Linked DNA regions of Homo sapiens: regions 1, 2 and 4 are each linked to region 3. The links are contacts of gene promoters, found by promoter capture Hi-C in blood cells and fetal thymus (Javierre and others, 2016). All regions are on one chromosome and are shown on one strand. Each heading gives the region's core, a stretch centred on a gene start or on the middle of the fragment in contact. The rest is flanking DNA. Distances are from core to core; before and after follow the strand shown.

Evidence for each region. Contacts are between HindIII fragments. The CHiCAGO score rates a contact against its expected background, and 5 or more counts as called.
Region 1: the fragment with the promoter of PIK3R1 here is called in contact with the fragment with the promoter of MAST4-AS1 in region 3 in 8 of 17 cell types (naive CD4 T cells, fetal thymus, non-activated CD4 T cells and 5 more); the score reaches 13.3 in naive CD4 T cells.
Region 2: the fragment with the promoter of ERBIN here is called in contact with the fragment with the promoter of MAST4-AS1 in region 3 in 3 of 17 cell types (total CD4 T cells, fetal thymus and non-activated CD4 T cells); the score reaches 7.0 in total CD4 T cells.
Region 4: a contact is called between a fragment that was not itself captured here and the fragment with the promoter of MAST4-AS1 in region 3, in 1 of 17 cell types (total B cells). The highest score is 5.9, in total B cells.

What each region holds. Positions count from the first base shown.
Region 1 is chr5:68,214,385-68,217,084 of GRCh38, forward strand. It overlaps PIK3R1 (phosphoinositide-3-kinase regulatory subunit 1), which reads left to right and starts at 1,372. Exons shown (of 16, transcript NM_181523.3): 1 at 1,372-1,565. RefSeq lists silencers at 549-768, 989-2,088. The HindIII fragment of the contact is 2,835 bases long and covers 1-2,207 here.
Region 2 is chr5:65,925,226-65,927,925 of GRCh38, forward strand. It overlaps ERBIN (erbb2 interacting protein), which reads left to right and starts at 1,350. Exons shown (of 26, transcript NM_001253697.2): 1 at 1,350-1,581. RefSeq lists enhancers at 1-74, 699-1,323, 1,284-1,503 and a silencer at 114-1,203. The HindIII fragment of the contact is 7,086 bases long and covers 1-2,700 here.
Region 3 is chr5:67,002,729-67,005,428 of GRCh38, forward strand. It overlaps MAST4-AS1 (MAST4 antisense RNA 1), which reads right to left and starts at 1,426. Exons shown (of 2, transcript NR_111908.1): 1 at 1,116-1,426. The region is part of intron 4 of MAST4 (microtubule associated serine/threonine kinase family member 4); the gene reads left to right. RefSeq lists a silencer at 1,304-1,643. The HindIII fragment of the contact is 7,419 bases long and covers 1-2,700 here.
Region 4 is chr5:68,196,459-68,199,158 of GRCh38, forward strand. It overlaps LINC02219 (long intergenic non-protein coding RNA 2219), which reads left to right. Exons shown (of 3, transcript NR_105003.1): 2 at 1-31; 3 at 1,732-1,949. Among named protein-coding and RNA genes, the nearest start is that of LINC02219, 7.9 kb to the left of the region's middle. The HindIII fragment of the contact is 1,030 bases long and covers 881-1,910 here.

The sequences.
Region 1 (2,700 bases), core at 122-2,621, 1.2 Mb after region 3:
CGCCTCTGCAAGAGACATCTTGGAATAATAGAAACACCAGTGTCTGAATAGCCTAAAGTGGAGCTTACTTTTCTGTTAGGTGAGTCACCTTTAAAAATGATATTTTTTAAGGATAAGCGATGAATTTTAGGACGTTCTTCCCTCTACTTCCAACGTCCACAAGAATAAACCACCAAATTCAACGTTTTACAGAGGCCAAGTGCTTAGGTTTTGTGTGTTTGTTTTTAAGAGTTTTCTTGCAAGGAAACTGGGAGGGAACTATAAAAGGGCTTTAGGCAAACAGGGTGGGCGGGTGCAGGGCTTTAAGCTGCAGAAAGGAGAATCTGGAAAGAGCTTTTAGGAAGCAGATTCTCACATGTTTTAATATGAAAGAGTGGCACACGTGGTGCTGGCATTCCATCTTACCATCAGTGGAAGGTTTGAACCAACATCAAATTTTTCTGGAGCAACTTAGGTAATTATTACTTGAAGAATATGCATTTCAAAACTAACACCTTTAAGAGACAATGTAATTCACCTGCGCTTCCCCGCCCCCCCCGCCCGCGCCAACCCCACCCCCCGCCAACCCCGCCCCCGACTCCGCGAACGCCGAGGGGCCCGTGGTCTGCCTGAGTGACCTCCATTTGCTCTGTCATCTCAGGACTAGAAGCCATCAGCCAGCGTACGCCCTCAGAAAACTCTCTTCCCTTCTCGCGGGTCCGCCTGGCTCCCGGAGGCGGCGGTGCCAGGCTGCCGGAGTTAGCCAGCGGCAGGCTGCGGGCGCCCGTCCCTCCGGTTCACCCTTTCACCCCTCCTTCACCCCCGGAGCGCCAGGCGGGTGCCGCGGGTTTTCCGCCCACTCGGAAGGCAGTGCTGGCGAGACCAGGAATTGCAGGGCCTCTCCGCTTTGGCGAGCTCTGGAATCCGAGTCCTCCCCACCCCAGCCACTCTGCTGGGGCGCTAGGGGCTCGAAAAAGCCTGGGGTTGGCTGAAAGACACTCGGATTAGAGACGCAGCCAGCCTCCAGGGAGGTCTGAACTTGTCTTCGACCTCCCCGAACCCCTCCGCCTCTGCGCTGGGAGACGCCCAGCAGCCGGGCGGGCCCGGGACGTGTAGAGCCAGAGCACTCCGCAGCGGAGGCAGCGCGCGGCACGGCCGCCCGGGGCATCCCCGCGGCTGGGGGGCGGAAGGCGAGGGCGGTGGCAGGAAGGGTCCGCCAGGCCTGAGCTCGCTCCCCCACTGCCAGCCGCCGGCTCGGAGGCCCGAGCCGTGCGGACGGAAAGGGGCGGAGCCGCGGGCTCTGGTTGGTGTGGGCTCGGGGGCGGGGCGCGCGGGGCCGGGCCGGAGGCGGGGCTAGCGCCGGGCGCTGGAGCTGCGGGCGCACGGAGAGGAGTCGCCAGCAGCTGGAGCGGAGTTGGAGGAAGCAGCGGCAGCGGCGAGGGCGGCAGGCTAGCTGTCGGAGACGGCAAGCACGGATCGGGCACGGCCGGCGGGTCGCAGCCGGGCTGGAGGCCGGTCGGAACCGAGCGGGCAGGAGGCCACCGCTGCAGCGCGGGCCCCGCAGAGGAAGGAAGCCGGCGGGCGGGGTAGGTAGGCAGCAGCAGCCCCGGGTGTGTGTGCTCGGGCGGGGGAGGCGGTGCATGTGTGCACGGCTGCCGCGACTCTCTTCCTGTCACTGGCAGCGGCTTCTCCTTCTGCAGAGCCCCGCCGGGGGGAAGCGGGCTGGCCACCGGCCCTCCCCGCCTCCGGCATCTCCTGGCCGCCGGGCAGCACTACCCCCGCGCGCGGCCGGCGTCCTGTGAGATCCCCGCCATCCTGACTCCCGTTTCCCCCGTCCTCCTGCGAGCTGGTCCTGCACGCCGCCGGTCGCATTTGCCCCCGGAGTTGCCGACGAGCTCGGGCTTCCTCCCACCCTCCGTCACCGCACACTTCGGAGGGTCCCCGCTGTCGCCTTGCTGCAGTTTTCCGGGGCCCCTCACCGGAGGAGAGCGCCCTGGCCGCTGCCTTCGTGTTGCGGGAAGGAGCGCTCCCTTCCCCCGTGGCCCTCCAGCTGCAGCCAGGGTCGCTGCCCGGGCCCTTCCCGGGGCGGGCGAGGCGGCGGTGGTCCCCGGAGCTCGTCCCCTAACCCCCGCCTTCCGAAGTTTGCCGCCCTCCTCTTCCGGGGTGGGGGAAGTGCGCCTCGGGGCGGTTGGTCGCTGGGGCCCTAACTCAGCGTTTATTGCCAGCCAAGCTTGGGCAGGTTGTTGGAGGCATATTTAGTGGGGTCTTGGAACCGCCCGGAAATCCAGCTTTTGGAACGTGGGGCGAGGCGGGAGGGACCTGCCCAGCAATATGGAGCCGGCTGGGGAGAGCCAGGGAGCCTGCAACCCGGAGCTAAAATATCGTGGGCAATTCTCTGGAAACCACAGCTCTAACCTAAGCTCAGAAACTGCCCCTCAGATCACAAGACAAAGAGAACAGAAAACCTCTGGCCAGGCACTCCTGTACAGAAATACACTTTGATAACCAGAATTGGAGCCTGAAATGCAAGGATATATGCAGAATGGCTGTTACGTGTTGAATGCAGAATGTGTGTCAACTGGGTTTGGGGGAATTCTTCTGTTTCCCGGGGCGCTATTAATATCGGAAAGGTCTCACTTCCACCGTTAATCCCTTGAGCTGCAGCGCTGTTGGTGTCCGAGTGTGAGTCTGCTCTTTATTTGGGGGCTTCATGATTTTAGG
Region 2 (2,700 bases), core at 100-2,599, 1.1 Mb before region 3:
CTGCGACCTGACCGTGCCATTAGAGGAAGTTGGAGTGCTGCAGCTGCAAGAGATACCTGCTGCCTTCAAATCAGGGCTGGACTCCAACAACCCCTGTGCACCGATTACTGTCGTACAAAGAAACTCCATCGGCCGGCGCGGCGGAGGCCTGTGGGCTCTCTATCTCTCTGGCTGGGCGCTGGGCCGCGAGCAGACAGCAGGGTCGGCGTTGCCAGCGTTCCCCACCCTGGGGGGCTCGGGAGTCCGGGAGTGCGGGGTCGGGGAGCGGGCAGGGAGCAGCGGGCAGGCCTCGAGGGGCCTGGGCCAGAGTGGGCCTCACGGCGCGCCTTGCACGCGAACCCACGGCCGCCGGCTGCCCCTCCCCCGGCCCCCGGCCCGCTGCCCCCAGCCGCCGACGTCGGCCCGCACCGCCCCCGCGCGCTGACTGGCCCGCGCAGGCCTCCTGCCCGGCTGTTGGCGGTTGGGGCGAAGCCGGCGGGAGGCCGCCCCGCCCCCGCCCCCGCCGCAGAGTCGCGGCGCGCAGCCTCTTCACCCGTCGCGGCCGGGGCGGTGGCGCTGTTGCCGCCGCGGCCTGTGAGGCAGTAACTCCCCTCCGCCCCTGCCCCATTCCTCCTCCTTTCTCTCCGCTCCCTCCGTCCTCCCTCCCCTCGCCGTCTCTCGCTCGAGTGAATGTGGCGCGGCGGCGCGGGACGCAGTCTCGGCCCCTGCCGCGGCCCCGCAAGCTCGTGAGGAGACGGAGCTGCCTCCTGCTCCCGCCCCCTGCGCGTCTCGGGGAGCCACCGCCGCTGGCGAAGGAGAACAAGCAGGGCAGCGGAGGGACGGTGGCGGGAAAACGGGAGAGGGAGGAGAAGAGGGTTCGAGGGCGAGTAGGGAAAGCGGGGAGGGACGGACGGAAGGACGGACGGCCCGACGGACGGCCCGGGGAGGGGGCCGCTATTGAGCCTGCCCGACTCCTCGGCTCCGGCTCCGGGTGGCGGCGGCAGCGGCGTCGCGGACGAAGGGCGCGGCAAGCGCTATCGAGACAATAACCCTGCCGCCCGGCTCTGGGGGCAACGGAGAGGAAGCGGTGGCGGCCTAGCGCGGCCGAGGCTCGCCGAGCGCCCGGGCAGCGTCCTCGCCCCCGCCGGCCGGGTGCTGCTGCCGTCCGGTGTGCCGGGCGCGCCGGTTGCCCGGAACCCGAGGCTCCCGGCGGCCGTCCCCTCCCCTCCCCCTCTCCGGTGCGCGCGGAGCTGGTTTTCCGGGTTCCCCTGGACGGAGCTGGATCCTGCTTCTCGCCAAGGCAGGAAGTGAGTTTCGCACTGCAATTCCGGGCGGTGTCACGAGTGAAAAGTTTTGTTTTTTTTTTTTTCGGCGGAGATCCTCGTTGGGGCTGGGAAACTCCTGCAAAACTCGAGACCAGGAAGCCAGCCCGCACCCCAACCCCCACCAAAGCCACCTACTCTTCTTCTGTGGGAGGCCAGTCCACATCCGCTCTCACCCGAGAGAGATATTCAGCTGGATCCAAAGTGACTGATGAAGGGAAGGAAATCATGTCAAGCGAAGCCTTGAAAAAGCTGCCCTGAGACGGTGTCCCGCCGAAAGGTAATTTTCACGAAAAGTGTCTCTGAGTCACAAAGTTCATGGGACTTTGTGACTCGGAAAAGAGATGATTCTTTAGTGTTTTTCACTCTTCTCCAAGTTGCCCTAAACCCTCCTTTTCTCATATCGAAGCGGTTAATAATTGAGGGGCTAAATAATCGAACTGCACCCCACCGCGTCCCTTCTCCCCCCTGCCCCCCCCACCATCTGGACTTTGAATTTTTTGGAAGAGGTTGTAAGAATGCGGTGGGACGAAAAGTTTTTAGTAATCCGAAGAACGATTGCCTTTGTTCAGCACAGGGGCCAGAAGTTTTGGCTTTCTGGAACGTATAGAGTGTATATTAAGTTGCTCAGCCAGGCACCTTCTGTTTGGGAAGAAAGTTTGGTCGCTGCAGTGAGTGATTTGCTGTTATTGAGATGGCTGCCGCGTTTGTTTATACTCATACCGATTATATTGGCGCTTGCGTTAATTGTATATAGAGGTATTTATTTTTATTTTTTTATTTCCAACCCTGATCAGTATATTTAGTTAGATTTTAGAAACCAAAAAATCTTGCCATTCTTAGTTGTTTTTCAGGGTGAGTAATATATTTCTTTAGTTGTGTGTAGTGTGTGTTTTTCAGACGTTTAGCGCCGTATAACTTGTTTAATTAATTGAAAGCAAGGATCGACTAGGCTTTTCTTGTAACTGATCCATTACGAAGAAAAAAGGAGTAAGGACTAAGAATAGGGAGAGATAATTAAACAACATTAACAACCTGTAAGACGTTTAATAGGACTTCTGTACAGTTCAGAACAGACGATGGGAGGGGAAGTAAAACGCTTAAAACGATTTTCAAGGGAATCACAGTGATTGTGATAAAAAGCTGTGCTTTTCGAGTAGTATGGTCTTTACATTTTTGTGTTGTCCCAAATGTTTTTGGTCGGTTCTGCATAAATAGTGATAGGTTCTGCCTACATCTGTGGGGGCAGGATTCATGAAGCATGGCAGACATTCCACCAGTCAGAGCTATGAACACTTCTGAACCAATGGGGACTAGTTTTGATAGCAGTAAACCCAAAGTTTTTTTCAGTGGTGTTTTAGTCTTTTTCTGTTTACTTTTTTTCCCGGTATTTTTGCGG
Region 3 (2,700 bases), core at 176-2,675:
TATGGACCCCATATTGCAGCTGGGGAAAATGAGAAGAGATTTAAGGTCATAGTAAGTGTTGTATCCAGAATTCAGACCCAAAATTTTTGCTCTAAACCAGTGCTCTGTATCACCCCTCTCAGAGAAGCCTTTATCTGGAGCAGTGGTTCCCAACCAGGGGTGATTTTACCTCCCAAGGGACATTTGGCAATGTCCTCAGACATTTTTAATTGTCAGCACTGGCATCTAGTAGGTCGAGGTCAGCAATGTTGCTAAACATCCTCCAATGCTCAAGAAAGCTCCTCAGACAAAGAATTATCCAGCCTATGTCAACAGTGCTGAGGTCTAGAAACTGCTCCGGAGCACAGGGACACTCTTTTGTGTCAGCCTTCAAAACATCTTTTGCAATACTTAGAAACATTTTTTAAAAGAAGAGCATGGGGCAAAAATGCTGGACCAAGCTCATTAATATCTATTGAAGTGTGTTTTGTCATTTAGTGTCCCTGAATGTTTGGGATAAAGTCCCAAATGTAAAATTGAGAAAATAATGCCTTCTTTGTCTACCTCTGTGGGTTGCAAGGATCTGTGGAGGCTCTGTAAGAATGTGAGGAGATAACGCATACGAAAGCCTTGGACATGAAACATCATCCAAAACTCTTGGAGTCCTTGGTGTGAAAATATTAATGTGGGCCACAAGAATTAGATAAAGAAGATCCCACAGCAGGCTTCTTTTTGTTTACCCCGCCTACCTTGTCAGCTTACACCCCCTCTTCCTTCTCTTTATCCTCCCATTTTTGTAAGCGAGTTTGTTCCTGGTATTTACTGCATGGACTAAGCCATTTTTAGATGTATTTTTTGCTGAATATATACTTTTTTGATTTAGTATTTCTTGCCATATTACACCAGACTTAAGGCAGCTAATTTAAATTATATTTTTTCTTTATGTACTTTATACAAACATTCATGGATAGGGGGAGATATTTAAATACCATGCCTTTCTTCAAAATGAATAACAAGAACATTCAGCCCCCTTCATTCTGCCCTTTCAAGGTCTAACGTACTTGAAGGGGCAATACTTGTAGCATTTGCCACATAAATGCCAGGTAGTGTCTTTCCACATCGGGGCTCACCATTACCTAGATCTGTAGTTGCCGGCCATGAAGCCAAACAGGTGTGCACCGTGGTCATTGATGGAACAGATGTAAACTCATAAATTTAGTTTACTGAGGTTTTCGGTGAGTGTGGCTTCCCGTCCGCGTGCTTTTCCTATACAACCAGCGGCGTCCTGGCGGAGGAGTCACTGTGGACTTCCCCGGAGCGTTGTCACTGCCATCCCTCCCGCGGTGAATCACAGGTCGGCCTCAGGTGCGCGCAGCACACACCCGGAGCAGCCGCGGGTTTATTTATTTATTTCCGGGACGGATCCATTCCGGGCTCCGGGGAGGGGGAGCGGCGGCCCAGGCTGCGGGGCTGTCCCGGCACCGGCTGGGGTCGCGCCGCGGCCGCCTGCTCCCTTTCCCGTGAGCCCCCGCTCCTCAGGCGCGGCCGGGGCTGGTGGGGGGTGGGGGATGCAGGAAAGCTGGGGGCGCGGCCACCAAGCTGTCCAGGGACAAGGCCCTGCCGCCTCCTCCCAGCCGGACCCTGGAAGGGTCCACAAAGGTGTCAGGTTCAAGTCCTCCAATAGGCCCATTTTTTAAAAGTGCTTTTAAGTTTCCGCTTTTTTCAGGAGGGGAGGGCAAGAGCAGCTTTTTCTATTCAAATTCTTTTCCTTGTATGTAGATACCAAAAGGAAACTCGGCACTGGGCATGTTCGGATGTGAATGGTTTTGCTGATAAGCAACAGCCTCCGGAACCAAAGCCTCAAAATAGTCGTCTCCCCCGCCCCTCGCAGAAGCGGCGAGTGGTATCTGCCAAACAGATGACAAAGTACCTCCGACTGAATCCCACAGACAGCGCTTTGAGCAGAACGCACGGCTCAACTCATGTAATTACTGTTTATAGCTGGCCGAGCCTGACTAGGAGAGGGCAGACCCGAGAGGAAATCAGTTTCCCGGACCTTTGAGAGGAGGCTGTGTGTTAATTAAAGGCTAGGACGGGACGGGTACTTCTCAGACATGCTCCAAGTTGTTCTTGAGATCACAGTTCCCATCACATTTTCTCTGGAGGGAGTGAGTAGATAATTGGGATTTTTTTTTTATTTTTGGCCTTGTCTTTCTTCCTTTTTTTTACCTCTCCCCATTTTAGTCATATGGCCTTGAACCCACAGTGAATTGAAGAGAGAAAGAAATGGATATGTCTGACCCCAATTTTTGGACTGTGCTCTCAAACTTTACTTTGCCTCATTTGAGGAGTGGGAACAGGCTTCGGCGAACACAAAGGTAAAAACGCGGGGATCTCTGCCTGGAGAGGGAATGCTTTCACTTCCCAGGGGCCCACAGGCGGAGCTGCCTGAGCCCCTCAGGAGCTGGGGTTTTGTGTATTGGGTGACACTTTGAAAAGTTTATGCCCCGCTAGGGGAGGGGGTACTGTTTCAGGTATTTCTTCGTCCTTGTGGTTTCCTGGGTAACCCTGATAAATGTGCTTCTCATAGGTTTTCTCCTTTTGAAATGTGGATAATAAGACATTTCCTTGTGAGAGGTGGGGGAGAAAAAGGGAAAGAGGAGGAGATACTTTGTCTAAGTCTGTCCCTTTGACCTGATCATGTTTATCCATTTCATTCAC
Region 4 (2,700 bases), core at 146-2,645, 1.2 Mb after region 3:
TGGGATTACAGGCGCAGGCCACCATGCCCAGGTAATTTTTGTATTTTTAGGAGAGAGGGGGGTTTCTCCATGTTTACCAGGCTGGTCCCGAACTCCTGACCTCAGGTGATACACCCGCCTTGGCCTCCCAAAGTGCTGTGATTACAGGCATGAGCTACCACGCCTGGCCGGTGCTGAATTTTAATTCCTCAACCAGCTGGGCTACCCTCGGTAATACCCTCAGTAATCATTACCCTCCCCATCACGAACTGCTCACTTGATCACTCAACACATAGAGAGTCTCCTTCATTCCCAATGTAGAATAGAGAGCAGAGATAACAGTGGAGAGTAAAGGCAACATGGTCCCTGCCCTCACGGAGTTTATACTCTAGTGGGGAAGACAAACATTATTCAAAGAGTTACATATAAATATAAAACTATACTGTGACAAATGCCACAAGGAAAAGGTGCAGAGTTTGATGACCCCAGGACCTGGAATTTACCTAGTCAGAGAGATCAAGGAAGGCTTCCCTAAGGAAGTGGTGCAGAGCTGAGATCGGAAGAAGCAGGGATGTTCTCCACAGAAAGAACATGCTCAGAAGCCCAGTCAGCAGCAGGAAGGAGTGTGGTGATTTTGAGGAACCGAAAGAAGACCAGCATGGCTGGAGAACAGAGGATGGGGGTGTGATATGTGACGAGCGAAGAGAAGTAAGCGGGGGCAAGATTGTGTAAGCCTGTGATCAGGATTCTGGCCTGTATGCCTAGAGCAGTTATTTTCAACTTCGGCTACATGTCAGAACCACCTACAAAGCATTTTAAAATACTGATTAAAGGATCCCATTCCAGAACCATCAAATCCAAACTTCTGGAAGTGAGAACCAGGCATAAGTATTTTTTTTAAAGCTTTCAGGTGATTTTATCATGAAAACAAGGGTGAGAATCATTGACCTATAGCAATGAGAAGTCACTAAAATGTTTGAAGATAATATGTATGCTATGAATCTTTAGAGGGAGTTGGAAGCCATTTCCAGATTTACATTTCAAAAAGCATCCTCTGGCTAGAACCATGGAGTTATCAATGCTAGTGATTGAGAGTTCAAAAAGGAGACCAATTCAGTGACAACTATTTTTTTATTTTTATTTTTTTGAGATGGAGTTTCCCTCTTGTCATCCAGTCTGGAGTGCAATCTCACAATCTCGGCTCACTGCAACCTCTGCCTCCTTGGTTCAAGTGATTCTCCTGCCTCAGCCTCCCAAGTAGCTGGGATTACAGGCGCCTGCCACCACGCCCAGCTAGTTTTCACATTTTTAGTAGAGATGGGGTTTCGCCATGTTGGCCAGGCTGGTCTCAAACTCCTGACCTCAGGTTATCCACCCGCCTCGGCCTCCCAAAGTGCTGGGATTATAGACATGAGCCACTGTGTCTAGCCAGTGACTGCTATTGATAAATGGTGCAGGTGAGGATTAGGGTAGCATCAACGGAGATGAAAAACATACATATATTTACAAGATTTTTAGTTGGTTAAAACACTGAGACTGGCAGAATGATGAAATGATGGATTCTATAATGGGAAAAAAGAGAGCAAATGACTATCAGTGTTCTGCTCACACAAGATGGATAATTGTGCCACTTGTTGATACAGGGACGAGGACTAGAATCAGAAATGTTTAGAGTGAGGGTACGTTTTCATTTGGGCATGTGAGGTTTGCTTTCATTTTGTCATGCATGTTCTTTACCTCTCTTTTCTGTAGGTCACCCGTACTTCATTTACCAGTCCTTGCTAAGGATTATTCATTAAAACACACAACAGCAACAATAACCACAAAAGCAACAATAAAAATACCTTTGAACTCACTCAATCTTGAACTATTGAACATGCTAAGTCCGTGTCATTGGCCTACTTAATCAGCCCTCGATTGTAACTTGAAGAAGCTTATTGATAAGAAAATAAACTTCTCATAAAGTATAACTACTTTCTTAGCAAAACTATTTGTTTCATCTTCTCTTTAAAATTTTTGATATTATGTATTTCCTTTTTTTTTTTTTTTTTTGGAGACAGAGTCTTACTCTGTCACCTGGGCTGGAGTGCAGTAGTGTTATCTCGGCTCAATGCAACCTCCGTCTCCTGGGTTCAAGCAATTCTCCTGCCTCAGCCTGCCGAGTAGCTGGAATTACAAACACCCGCCACCACCCCCAGCTAATTTTTTGTATTTTTAGTGGAGACAGGGTTTCACCATGTTGGCCAGGCTGGTCTTGAATGCCTGACCTCAGGTGATCCATCCACCTCAGCCTCCCAAAGTGCTGGGATTACAGGCGTGAGCCACTGCACCCGGTCTATTATGTATTTCTGAAGATATTTAATGCCAAGTAACAGAAACCACACTCCAATGAGTTTAAACAAAAATAACATTATTATAAGAATATAAAGGTATCTTATGGAATATAAGAATAAATCTGTGGCTAGAGTTAAGGAAAAGCTAGAATCACGAACTCATGACTTCACAGTTCCCTCTCCCCAGCTCTTCTTCTCTTGTGCATCTGCTTTGTTTTTCTTTCTCTGTTCTCAGAAACTAGCTCCCATCACTTTTCTTCTTAACATGAACAAAAATATGACAAGTGACAGCTCCTGAGGTTTAAGCCCTAGAGCTCAGACATCAGAGGGAAACAATCTTAACTCTTTCAGTACAAAACCTAAAATCCTGGGGTAGAAACTCAAGTAG